2 separate regions of the Homo sapiens genome follow, and region 2 is linked to region 1. The links are contacts of gene promoters, found by promoter capture Hi-C in blood cells and fetal thymus (Javierre and others, 2016). All regions are on one chromosome and are shown on one strand. Each heading gives the region's core, a stretch centred on a gene start or on the middle of the fragment in contact. The rest is flanking DNA. Distances are from core to core; before and after follow the strand shown.

What was found. Contacts are between HindIII fragments. The CHiCAGO score rates a contact against its expected background, and 5 or more counts as called.
Region 2: a contact is called between a fragment that was not itself captured here and the fragment with the promoter of CCDC85A in region 1, in 1 of 17 cell types (endothelial precursors). The highest score is 5.0, in endothelial precursors.

The regions. Positions count from the first base shown.
Region 1 is chr2:56,181,304-56,187,080 of GRCh38, reverse strand. It overlaps CCDC85A (coiled-coil domain containing 85A), which reads right to left and starts at 3,091. Exons shown (of 6, transcript NM_001080433.2): 1 at 2,181-3,091. The coding sequence starts at 2,456. It overlaps LOC100129434 (a long non-coding RNA gene), which reads left to right and starts at 1,311. Exons shown (of 3, transcript NR_125368.1): 1 at 1,311-1,383. RefSeq lists a silencer at 3,092-3,421. The HindIII fragment of the contact is 6,654 bases long and covers 1-3,704 here.
Region 2 is chr2:56,668,099-56,673,927 of GRCh38, reverse strand. No RefSeq gene overlaps it. Among named protein-coding and RNA genes, the nearest start is that of CCDC85A, 490 kb to the right of the region's middle. The HindIII fragment of the contact is 1,591 bases long and covers 3,187-4,777 here.

The sequences.
Region 1 (5,777 bases), core at 1,842-4,341:
AAAGAGAAGGGAGAAGGCTGGCCTCTCCAAAGAGTAAAACCACAGCACACCCAGGGTGGGCCAGAAGCCTGGGAGTCCGCTCCTTGCAGCAGCCCAGGGATGACATGAGAAGAGTAGAAGCTGCATCAGAAAGCAACCTGCCCCCATCATTTCTGAACTTGATAAGGAAGTAGACTGGCAAGTCTTTTAATGCCAGGTCATGAATCTAGATCACAAGGAGACTTTCTTACTTGGGTGTACGGGCCTTTAGCTGACCTAATAGCTACTTCTCTACATGAAGCTACTGGAATGAAGCCCAGGCACTCTACCAACCCACTCTACCATTCCCCTCCCCTACCCACACACAGACATCACACACAGTCAATCCACATAACCTAAAGGAACTTTCAAGTGTTTCTGAGCTATTATTTTGATGCTCCATACTATTAAAACATTTAATAATAACTCTTCCAACTCTTCTAAATCACACTATTGTTCAGACCATGGAAGAAACTCAAATTAGAGGATGACAAACTAATGCCCCCTTGTCCAGCTCTGCCTAAGAAACCAAAATCTTGGGGACACACAGCCATAGATTTGTAAGTCCTTTCCTGATGACAGTAACTACCATTTTATAGTCAAGTATTAAACCTTCCCCTACATAATCATAACTTATTGCCATAACACCCTCAGAAAGTTATTATCATTGCATTGTATTGGTGAATAAAAGGAGGATCTGAGAAAGTAATTACCCAAGCTCACCCTCCTGGCAAATGAGGTTTCTAGAATTCAAACCCACCTCTGAGATCATCTTCCTACTACACTAGCCTGCCTCTATTCCCCAAAGAGACTGGCACTTAATAAACACTCTGTTAGTAATGAATTCAACCACAGGAGAGAGTAAGCCTTGGCATTTTTCTGACTGGAGGAATCTTCCTACCTGCACCCACTCTAGGGACTATATGACAATGACTTTCGGCCTCGGGAGACGGCCATCTCCACCTGAACTGGGCCCAGCACATAGGTGAGCCTTGAGCATTCCACTCTTCCCACTCTTTCTTGCCCCAGAATCCCAGAGCTGGAGCACTGAGGCAATTCCGGAACAGCATCTACTGTCTGATATGTGGGGATAGGAGTGGAAAGGGGAAAAGAACAGCTTGTGCCTTCGGGAATTTGCTCCCTGAAGTCCCTGCAGTGATTTCGTTTGTGTCTGGCTTCCTACAAACAAAGCAGAACAATGAGAGGAAGGAATACCAGGAGGCACCAGCGCTAGCTGGAAGGAGAGGAAGTTTGTGGTGCTCGCCAGCAGGGCGGTTCCCGGCCACTAGTGTACTGCAGCTGGGCAGGCACACTCCTCGCAGACCCGGCGCTCTCCAAGGAGAAAAGAAAGTTAGTGGGCTTGGGGTACGTTTCCCTTCTTTTCCTAGAAGAGGGTGGCAGGGGGGCTGGCTCAGAAAGAAACCATCACTGACCAACACTTGGGGTACTCTGTCAAAATGCTGCTCCTTCCATACTGAGTCTCTTTGCTCCTCCTCTTTCCCCCAGTCAACCTGGGGTTAAGTGGGAAGGGGAGTAAGGCAACTCCAGGGGATGCCTTCCAAACTCCGGGAGAGGGAAAGCACAGGAATTGGGAGAAGACGTGAAGGCAGAGCTTGAACTCCTATGTACCCGGTGACACAAGACTGCTCTGAGGGTGGCGCCCGCTGCTTCTCCCGGGCGCCCCGCCAGCCGCTCTCCCTGGCAGTGGCGCCCTTTCCTCGCCCTCTGCCCGCCCAAGAGCTGCTGGCCCAGAGCAGCCGCATTCCCGACCCTCCAAGGCGAAGATCCCCTGGATTCACCCCCTCACTGGCCTTTCCGCCTAACTGACTGAAACCCGGCTCCCCAGGCACAGATTTTCCAGCCTCCCTAAGAAATGAAAGGTTCGCGTGCCCTTCACCTCCCTCCCTGCTTTCCAGCGTCCTCAGCGCCTCCCCGAACAGCCAGACAGTGGAGCGCCCCGTGTTGGGGAGAGGAGGGGAGCAGACGCCTCCGAAGTTTGGAAAAGTTACACAGGGGCTGGGGACTGGGGGTAGGGGGTGCCGACCGGGAGAAGGGGAGGGTCACCTGTTGAGGGAGGGAGGGAAAGTTTGCCTGGCCCCGCCTCCTCCTCGGGGCACCCCGCTCCCAGCCGCGCCGCGCCTCCCCACCTGGCCCGCGCTCACCTTGAGGCCGCGGATCTCGCCGAGGTGCAGCTGCAGGCGGCGGTTCACCTCGCGGATGAGGTTGCTGTGGTCCAGCATCGCGCTCACCTTCTCCGCCTCGGCGCGCCGCAGGCTGCGGATCAGCTCCTCCTTGCTCCACTGCAGCAGCTCCTCGTCCGACACTTTGGACAGGTCCTCCACCGGCGCGGGCGGGGCCGCGGACGAGCCGGCCGGGGCTGGGGAACAACTTTCCGCCGCCGCCGCAGCCGCCGCCGCGCCTCCGGCCGCCTTCGACATGGTATCCGCGGGGTGGCAGGTGCAAGTGGGTGGAAGAGGCGAGGCGACTCCCGAAGGCGCGGGCGCGGCGAGGCCGCCTCCGCCCACACCCCTGTGCGCTCCGGCGAGTCAGCGGCACCGCCCAGGGGCCGCTGGGTTGGGGCGGCGGGGGTCGCGCTGGGTGGCCATCCTACCTCGCCATCCCCGCGCGCGCGCCCGCGCTCCCCCAGGGCCCGGCAGCCAGCCGCTTGCTGCTGCCGAGGCCCGTCCCAACTCCGCGCAAGTCCATGGTGAGGGGCACTGGGGAGCCCGGGGCTGCCGCGGGAAATCCTCGGGGACAGCGGGGGAGCTGCACCGCCGTTCCCCTGCCCTCTCCTCCGCCCTAAGCCGAGACTGTCGCCCCCCGCACTCTCTGCCCTGCACACAGGCGTGCACGCACACGCACTTTCCTCCCCCTTGCCCAGCTGCAGCCCCCGGCTTCTCCCCTCTCCTAGCTTGGAGGGCGCGCCGGGCACCGCGGCGCCTCCCCGGCTGCTCTAGCGACGCCGCCGCGGCTGCCCGAAGGCTGCTGCGCTCCTCCTGCCGCCTTCGCTGCGCCCGCGGCCGCTCCTAGGCTGCTCCGGAAAGCCTTCGATTTGCAGAGCGGAGTCGAGAAGGGGTGGAGGGTGGGGGACCGGCTGGAGGAGGAGCCTGGAGCTGGGGCCACCCGTAACCCGCAGCAGCTCCCGCATGGGCTGGACGCAGCTGCCACTCGACCGCTGCCCGGGCCCTCGAGGTGCGCTCCCGGCTGTCCTGCCCGGGAGGGCTGGGGGCGCGGCTCTTTCTGCGCCCGGGCGGGTGGGGCTGGAATGGGGAGAAGGTGAGGAGCTGTGGCCGCCCGGTCTTTGGGAGGCTCGCGCGCGCCACCGTGTGGCGGAAGAAGCTCCCTCCTCTGCCCTCTGCACACCGGCCTTGTCACCAGGCAGGGGAAACAGCTGCTGACCCAAATGCGAGGTGCTTCGTATTTGGAGGGATCGGGGATCAGGAAAGATGGGGTAGCAGGACCTGAGGGATAACCAGTTATTTGCACTTTGGAGAATGGGAGGAGAGGCAAATGGCAAAAACGGGGGTTGGGGAAAGGGGCAGCTTAAGAAAATCCAAATGGTCTGAAAAGGGCGAAAAGAGGCGTCAGGGCACTGCTCTTATGGGGCTACCCATCCCCACCCCCCACTCTCGCCCCACCCCTAGGCCTTTGTGTTTTCTAAAAATCCACTACTCTATGAAGAAGCTTCGGGAGAAGGTACTGGATCTTTTAAATTTTTATTTGAAAAATATCAAAGCCTTTAGGCGAAAATAAAATACCTTCATCTCCTGCTTCCTGAAACCTGGATTTTAAGGTCAGCACAGTCACCTCCCCTCGGAGCAAAGCAAGCCCCCTCAGGCAAGCTGAAATGCCAGCCAAGGAGATTTCCATTTTCTTCTATGCCGCAGGCTGCCAGGCGTTTACTGGGTCGGCTTTTTTATGATGGTTATTTCTGGAAGGAGGAAGTCTGAGTCCCTGGCTTCTATCTTTGGGCTATCCTCTTGTAAAGTTGGGTGGAATCGTCTCTGGGCTGAAAACATGCTTTTGCCTAAAGAGGTGGATGCCCTTGACCACCGCATGTTATTTCCAGTGGGGTACAGGGCCGGAAAATGGCAAGGATCTACCCCCACCGGGTTTCAGTTAACCCGGGTGCAGAGGGAATAATCTCTATCTGGTAGGATGATAATCAAAATCAGTCCCTTCACCCGCCGGTCAGTGCGTGTCCCCTATTGGGGACACTGAGACCTGGCTCCCGGGAGAGGCAAGGAAATGTGGTACTGCTTACGGTGACCAAATGGCCTTAACATTCCCCTCAGCTTAACTAAACTTTAGACAGGTTTCTTCCTAACTGTAGGCCCCAGACCTTCCTTTTCTCAGAGCATTTACTTTAGCCAACTTCCATTGGTGAATGTTTCCTCTGACCCTTTGACATGTAAATCTCTCCGCCTCTTGCTGGGTTTTACAGCCTGGGGATCTTTCTCAGGGATCTGTGAGGCATCCCTTTGAAATGTAATCATCAAGGAAAAAAGGGTCCCTATCTCCTAGTGTTTGTGGAGAGGAGGAGCCTAACTTTAATAAGTTCCAATTAGGAAACACAAATGGCCTCATTACACTGACCAACTTCCCATCCTAATCTCCTCCACTAGTCTTCTACTAGTTCCCCTCTCCCTCCCTCTCTCTCTTCCCTATTGCAATAGCCTTGAATAATTCCCCCTTGTCTGTTTAACTATATCGGATGCAATTTTTCTTTGACACCTCCAAGCCGCTCTCACGCCCACAGAAGGCTCTGCTCAACACAGTTCCTAAGACCAGTTTTGTCACAGAAAGGGAAAGTGAAGGTCAGAAAAAGATAAGTCCTATCTCTGTTACTTGTTAGTTCTTGTCCTTGAACAAACCATCCGACCTTACTGGCCCTCGGGCAGCTAATGATATGGTATACAAGAAGCGCTTGATCGAGCCACCCTACAGAAATGCAACCTTACTATTACTGATATTACATATTACATTGGGCAGCCTCTTGTCTAGAAATAGGAACCAGGACTTCTGTTTATTCCTCCATCACGGGTTCTTCAAGAGTCGTATTCTAAAATGAAACAGCCAGCCCCCTTCTCTGCTAACTCCCTCTGATCAGTTAACACCAAATAGATATGAGAAATCAGAGAGATGGCTGAGAGGAAAAATTAGACTTGTGTTGGGAAGACAAGGAAGAAGGAAAGCCAAAAAAAAAAAAAAAGTCTCCACAAATTATATACACTAGCAGTGGATTACAGTTGAGCTAGATCACCTTAAGGTTTTCATGTTTCTAATTTTGGTCATTGATTCAGAATAATAATTATCTGCATGAATGAATAATGTTGCTTCATGTTGCTAAGGTCATGTATGGTGTCAGGAGCTTCATTTGACTGCTAAAAACAGAAACTCAAAAAACAGTCACTTTAAAAAAGTCATTTATTTTTTCTCACCTACCTGGTATTCTAAAGAGAGGCAGCTGAGGGCTGGTATGGTATCTTCATGAGGTCGTCAAAATCTTAGGCTCCTTCTCTCAGCTCAGTCCCCTTTGGGATGATTGCCTCGTGTCCATAACATGGTTGGTGGAACTCTAGCCATCCAGCTACGTGTAAGGCAGGAAGAAGGTAATAACAACTGCAAAGGGGCACATGCCCCTTTAAAAACTTTTCCTGGTGGCCGGGGGCGGTGGCTCATAACTGTAATCCCAGCACTTTGGGCGTCCGATGCAGGTGGATCATTTGAGGTCAGGAATTCAAGACCAGCCTGGCCAA
Region 2 (5,829 bases), core at 2,733-5,232, 490 kb before region 1:
TGCTTTCACACAGACTACTAAATTATAACTTAGTCATAATATTAAATTTTAGTTTATTTCAATTTTCTTTTTTCCCCCAAGATAGCAGAGTAGGGGATTTTAGTATGCCTCTGCCACTTGGAAGCAGCAAGATAGTGCATAAAGATCAACTTTCTGTGCTTTAATTCAAGAAGGAAAACAGGATTCCACTGAAATTGTGATGTACATCCCAGATCCCAAGGAGGAAAATGTGGTCCAACAGCCTCTGTGACAGAATCTGGCTGATAAAAATGAGTGAAACCCCAGTACGTAAAAGATGCAGGGAACTTCCTTCTGTGACTCATCTTTCCACTGGGAATCCAAGCAACCCAGGCAAAGGGAGAGCACTTCATTTCTCCCAAGACCTGGAGCTAACATAGGGAAAGGTTTGGAGGCATTGAGAGGAAAACGCACCAGGAAAAACTAGAGGCATTTTCCTAGACCTAGAACTGAGAGCAGGATGCCATTTTTAATCTGAATGTATACAAAGTCAGTCCTTCTTTGGGGAACCACCAGTGTAGCCATGCAGGCATTTCCAACTCAGGCTAGAGATTGGTGCATTTGTTCTGGAGCAGGGTAGGTACCTCCAAAGCCAGAATTTTGGAAAGCACCTCAGAAATAGGCATTAGGACTGCTCTGGGGCAGGAGGAGAGCTGCTACAGCTGCACTTTCTTCTGGTAGGCAAGGCTTGCAGTCAAGGCCAGCTTGGTGACCTGGAACTAGTTTGCATGTGTCATTGCTGGGTACTCCAGCCTGATCCCCTGAGATAGTGGTACAGCAGGGATCACTCTGATCCACCCCAGGCAGAACTCCAGGCATTCAAAGCACTTACTCATATGGATTAGCAGCCTGACCTGCCCCACCCTTCCTGTGCAGAGATCTTGGTTCTGTGAGGCCCTTTTCACTTCATATCTAGGAAAACCTCCAAGCATTCAGAGCAACTTCTCTCCTGGATCAGCAACCTGAGCTGCTCCACCCTACCGGGGCATAGATTGTGGTGCAGTATGTCCTCTCCACTTTATGCTCAGGTATATCTCCAGGCATCCAGAGCACTCAGTCAGCAGCCTGACCTGTCCCAACCTTCTGTGCAGAGATCATGGTGCAGGGGGCCCTCTCCATTTCACATCCAGGCAGATCTCCAGGTATTTGGAGCACCTGCTCACCCAGCTTGGCATTCTGAACTGCTTCATCCTTTCTGCACAGAGATCACAATGCAGCAGGACCCTTTCTGTTCCATGCCCAGAGACTGTGGTACAGTGGGGCCTTCTCCACTCAATGCCTAGGCAGATCTCCATGCAGTTAGAGCACCAGCTCACCTGGATCAGAAGGTCAAACCACCTTACTTCCTACAGCAGAGCACTCTGCACTCTACACCCAGGAATGTTTTTAGTCATCTTGAGCAACTGCTCTCCTGGATTAGGTTTAGGCTGCCCCCTGCCTGTGCAGGTCTCCCAGCTCCCTGCCTAAGCTCACTTCAGGATGCTTGGTCACCAGCCACTGGACTTTCCCATGGCACTGATGTCGTGCCTGTTATCAGGAGACCTGAAGCTGGGCCTGCCTGGTCTGGCTCTGTCCATCTTGCCTCCAACCCCCTGGGGCTAAGCAGCGAGCTGAAACCACTGGGCACTCCACAGATCAGCCCATTGTCCAAGGCAACAGAGAGCTTCTCCTGATACATAAGGATCAAGTATATACCCAACCACGTTGGCTGCATCCAGTTCTTACCCATAAGTGCCATCTACTGGCTTGTAGATCAAACCACACAACCCATGTAAAACCTACCGAAAGAAGTGCAGAGGACTACATATGGAAGCAAAGCCAAAAGACCATACCTAACATTCTCTATAGACACACAATCTATGGAGGGGAAAAGGGGGGAAATCGAAAGAAAAATAAATAAACAATATTATAGGGGAGAAAAATTCCTACCCAAATGAAAATAATTAGAAAAATTTGGAAGTGTCAGCATTTCCAAATGAGAAGAAACCAGTGAAAGAATTCTGCCACCATGAAAAATCAGAATGTATTATATGTATAATACATACGATACAAAATGTATAATAGCAGTACCACCAAAGTATCACACTAGCTCTCCAGCAATGGCTTCTAACCAAAATGGAAGCTCAAAAATGACAGACAAAGAATTCAAAGCATGGGTTGCAAGGAAGCTCAAGAAGATCTTAAAAAAGGTTGAAAATTAACAAAAAGAAACTTCTAAACCAATCCAGGAAATAAAGGAAGAGATAAACATCTTAAAATAAATCAATCAGAGCTTCTGGAATTGAAAAAACAATTTCAAAATATAATTGAAAGCTTTATCAATAGATTGAACCAAGCAGCAGAAAGAATGTCAGAGCTTAAAGACTAGTCTTTCAAACTAATTCAGACAAAGACAAGGAAAAAAAAATCTTAAAAAATTAATGGGTTGGGAGCAGTGGCTCATGCCTGTAATCCCAGCACTTTGGGAGGCCGAAGAGGGCGAATCACAAGGTCAGGAGTTTGAGACCAGCCTGGCCAACATGGTGAAACCCCGTCCCTACCAAAAATACAAAAAATTAGCTGGGCGTGGTGGTGGGTGCCTGTAATCCCAACTACTAGGGAAGCTGAGGCAGGAGAATTGCTTGAATCTGGGAGGCAGAGGTTGTAGTGAGCGAAGATCATACCACTGCACTCCAGCCTGGGTGACGGTGTGAGACTCCATCTCAAAAAAAAAAAAAAAAAAAATGAAGTTTTTGAGAAATATGGGATTAGGTAAAGCATAATCCTCCTAGTTATTGGCATTTCTGAGACACAAAGAGAAAAATTAGACAACCTGGAAAACATATTTGAGGAAATAATTTTAGAAAATTTTTCTGATCTTGCTAGAGAGGTAGGCATTCAGATACAAGAAATCCAGGGAACATCTGTGACAAGCTATAGAAAATGAACCAAATCAAAGCATGTAGTCACCAGATTGTCCAAGATCAATGCTAAAGAAAAAGTCTTACAGGCAGAGAGAAAAGGGCAGATACCATAAAAAGGGAAACTTATTAGGCTAACAGCAGAATTTTCAGCAAAATTCTTAGAAGCCAGGAGAGACTGGAGACCTTTCTTCAGCACATTCTTAAAAAAAAAAAAAAAAAAAAAAAAAAGAAATTACAAGAATTTCATACTCTGCCAAATTAAGCTTCATAAGCAAGGAAAAATAAAATATTTTCCAGACAAGCAAGTACTAACGGAATTTGTTACCACTAGATCAGCCTTACAGAGTAAATAAATAACCTGCAGAATGGGAGAAAATATTTGTAAAATATGCATATGACAAAGGCCTAATATCCCGAAATCTGAGGAACTTAAACAATTCAATGAGCAGAATAAATAACCTCATTAAAAATGGGCAAGGACATGAATACACACTTTTCAAAAGAAGACATACAAGTGGCCAAAAAACATGAATAAATACTCATTATTAATTATCCGAGAAATACTAATCGAAACCATAATGAGATACCATCTCACACCCGGCAGAATGGCTATTATTAAAAAGTCAAGGCCAGGCACAGTGGCTCATGCCTGTAATCGCAGCACTTTGGGAGGCCGAGGCAGGCAGATCACCCGAGGTCAGTGGTTCAAGACCAGCCAGGCCAACATGGCAAAACCCCATCCCTACTAAAAATACAAAAATTAGCTAGGTGTGGTAGTGTGCGCCTGTAATCCCAGCTACTCGGAAGGCTGAGGCAGGAGAATCACTTGAACCCAGGAGGCGTATGTTGCAGTGAGCCAAGATCATGCCACTGCACTTCAGCCTGGCCAGGAGACAGAGCAAACTCTGTTTCAAATATAATAATAACAAAAGTAAAAAAACAACAAATGCTGGTGAGCCTCTGAAGAAAAGGGAATGCTTATACACTGTTGGTGGGGATATAACTTAGTTCAAACACTGTGGAAAACGGTTTGGAGATATCTCAAGAAACTTAAAACAGAACCATCATTCGGCCCAGCAACCCCATTACTGGGTATCTATTCAAAAGAAAATACATTGCTCTACTTAAAAGACACATGCACTAGTATATTCATCACAGCTCTATTCACGAGAGCAAAGACATGGAATCAACCTAGGGGCCTATCAACAGTGGATTGAGTAATGAAAACATGGTACATATCCACCATGGAATACTATTCAACTATAAAATAAAAGATACCCTTGGCAGAAACATGGATGCAGCAGAGGCTATTACCCTAAATGAATTAATGCAGGAACAGAAAGCCAAATACCACATATTCTCACTTATAATTGAGAACTAAATACTAGATGCTTATGGATGTAAAAAAGGCAACAATAGAATCTGGGGACTACTAGAAGCATGAGGGAGGGCTAGGAGCAAGAGTTAAAAAACTGACATTTGGGTACCATGTTGACTATCTCAGTGACAGTATCATTCATATCCCAAACCTAAGAATCACACAATATACCCATGGAACAAACCTGCACATGTACACCCTGAATATAAAATAAAATTTGAAATAATTTAAAATAAATTTTAATAATATCATTAACTCATCCCATTAAAAATTTTTGATTATGTATTATGTCTCAGAGCCAATTCAAATATTTACAATTCAAAGAAGCATAAGACATAGCCTTCAAAAAGCTCATGGTTTAGTCAGTAATATGTATCATTATAAAATATTGTGGTAAATGCAAGATAAACGTATAGACTAGGAAATCAGGAGTAACAAAGGCGAGAAAATGATCAATTTTGCCTTGGTAAATCAAGCTTTACAGATTAAGTTGAATTATCAGAAACTCCCCACTCAGATAAGAAAAAGAAGACCAGTGAAAGTAAGAGGAGCTTAGGGTATAAATTTGTATAGTATTACTTTACTGCTGAAAGAAATCATGGGGAAGCAAGGGGAAAGGAAATGGAGAGTAAGGCATTAAAGAACCGAGAGCAAAGAGGAGAGAGAGCATTACTGAGCGGGCCACTGCTTGAAATCAAGCACAACTAATTTTGCTTGATATCAGACTGCCTTCTGAGAGGGCATATTTACTAGCCCATTTTATAAGAGTCTGTCTACGTGAAGAAGGATTGAGAATTTATGCACCATGTTTCACTTCCAATTCCACCCTGCACATGCATAGGTGGCAAGTGAATCCTATGGCATTTAACACCTCACTGGCAACCAGCAAACCACAGTTGGAAAGGCAAGAGATGCAGAACGCAAGCAGGAGACAAGGTGCTATCATATAAAGTTAATGATGATAGCAGTCAGAGTAAAATAAGTGGCCATGGACAAAGGGTAGATCAAGCCAAAAACAGTGGAAGTAGCATTTAGAATATGTCTCATGCAGAAAACTCTTTGCACCACTCAGATTCATTTGTGACCTCCCATTTTGCCCAGCTCCCACGTTGCAAAATGATTCTCCATTTTTTGTGAAATTTTTGTGCCCTCACTCCTCCAAAAGAGTAAAGTATAAATCACAGAAACGCAGTGTCTGAAAAAATTTTAGGCAGAAGGGTTAGTAAAACAAGCTATGGTATTCACTGCTGCAACTTATCCACCATAAACCTCTATAAGAGAGGACCATAACACTGTTTTAGATACCCTGGCATCAGAATCAGCTTAGATGCTATAGTGAACTGTTTTTAAATGTCTGTGTAAACCTCCTTCCCAGGGCACTGTAACTCTGGCAAAAGTCACAGATCCCTTTGGGAACAAAACAAGGGAATATTTACCACATGTATTTGTGATGATGCCGAGGACTTACAGTCTCCTTCAACTGCTGGACCCTGGGTTAGCAAACTGATTTAAATCTGGAAACTGGCAGGA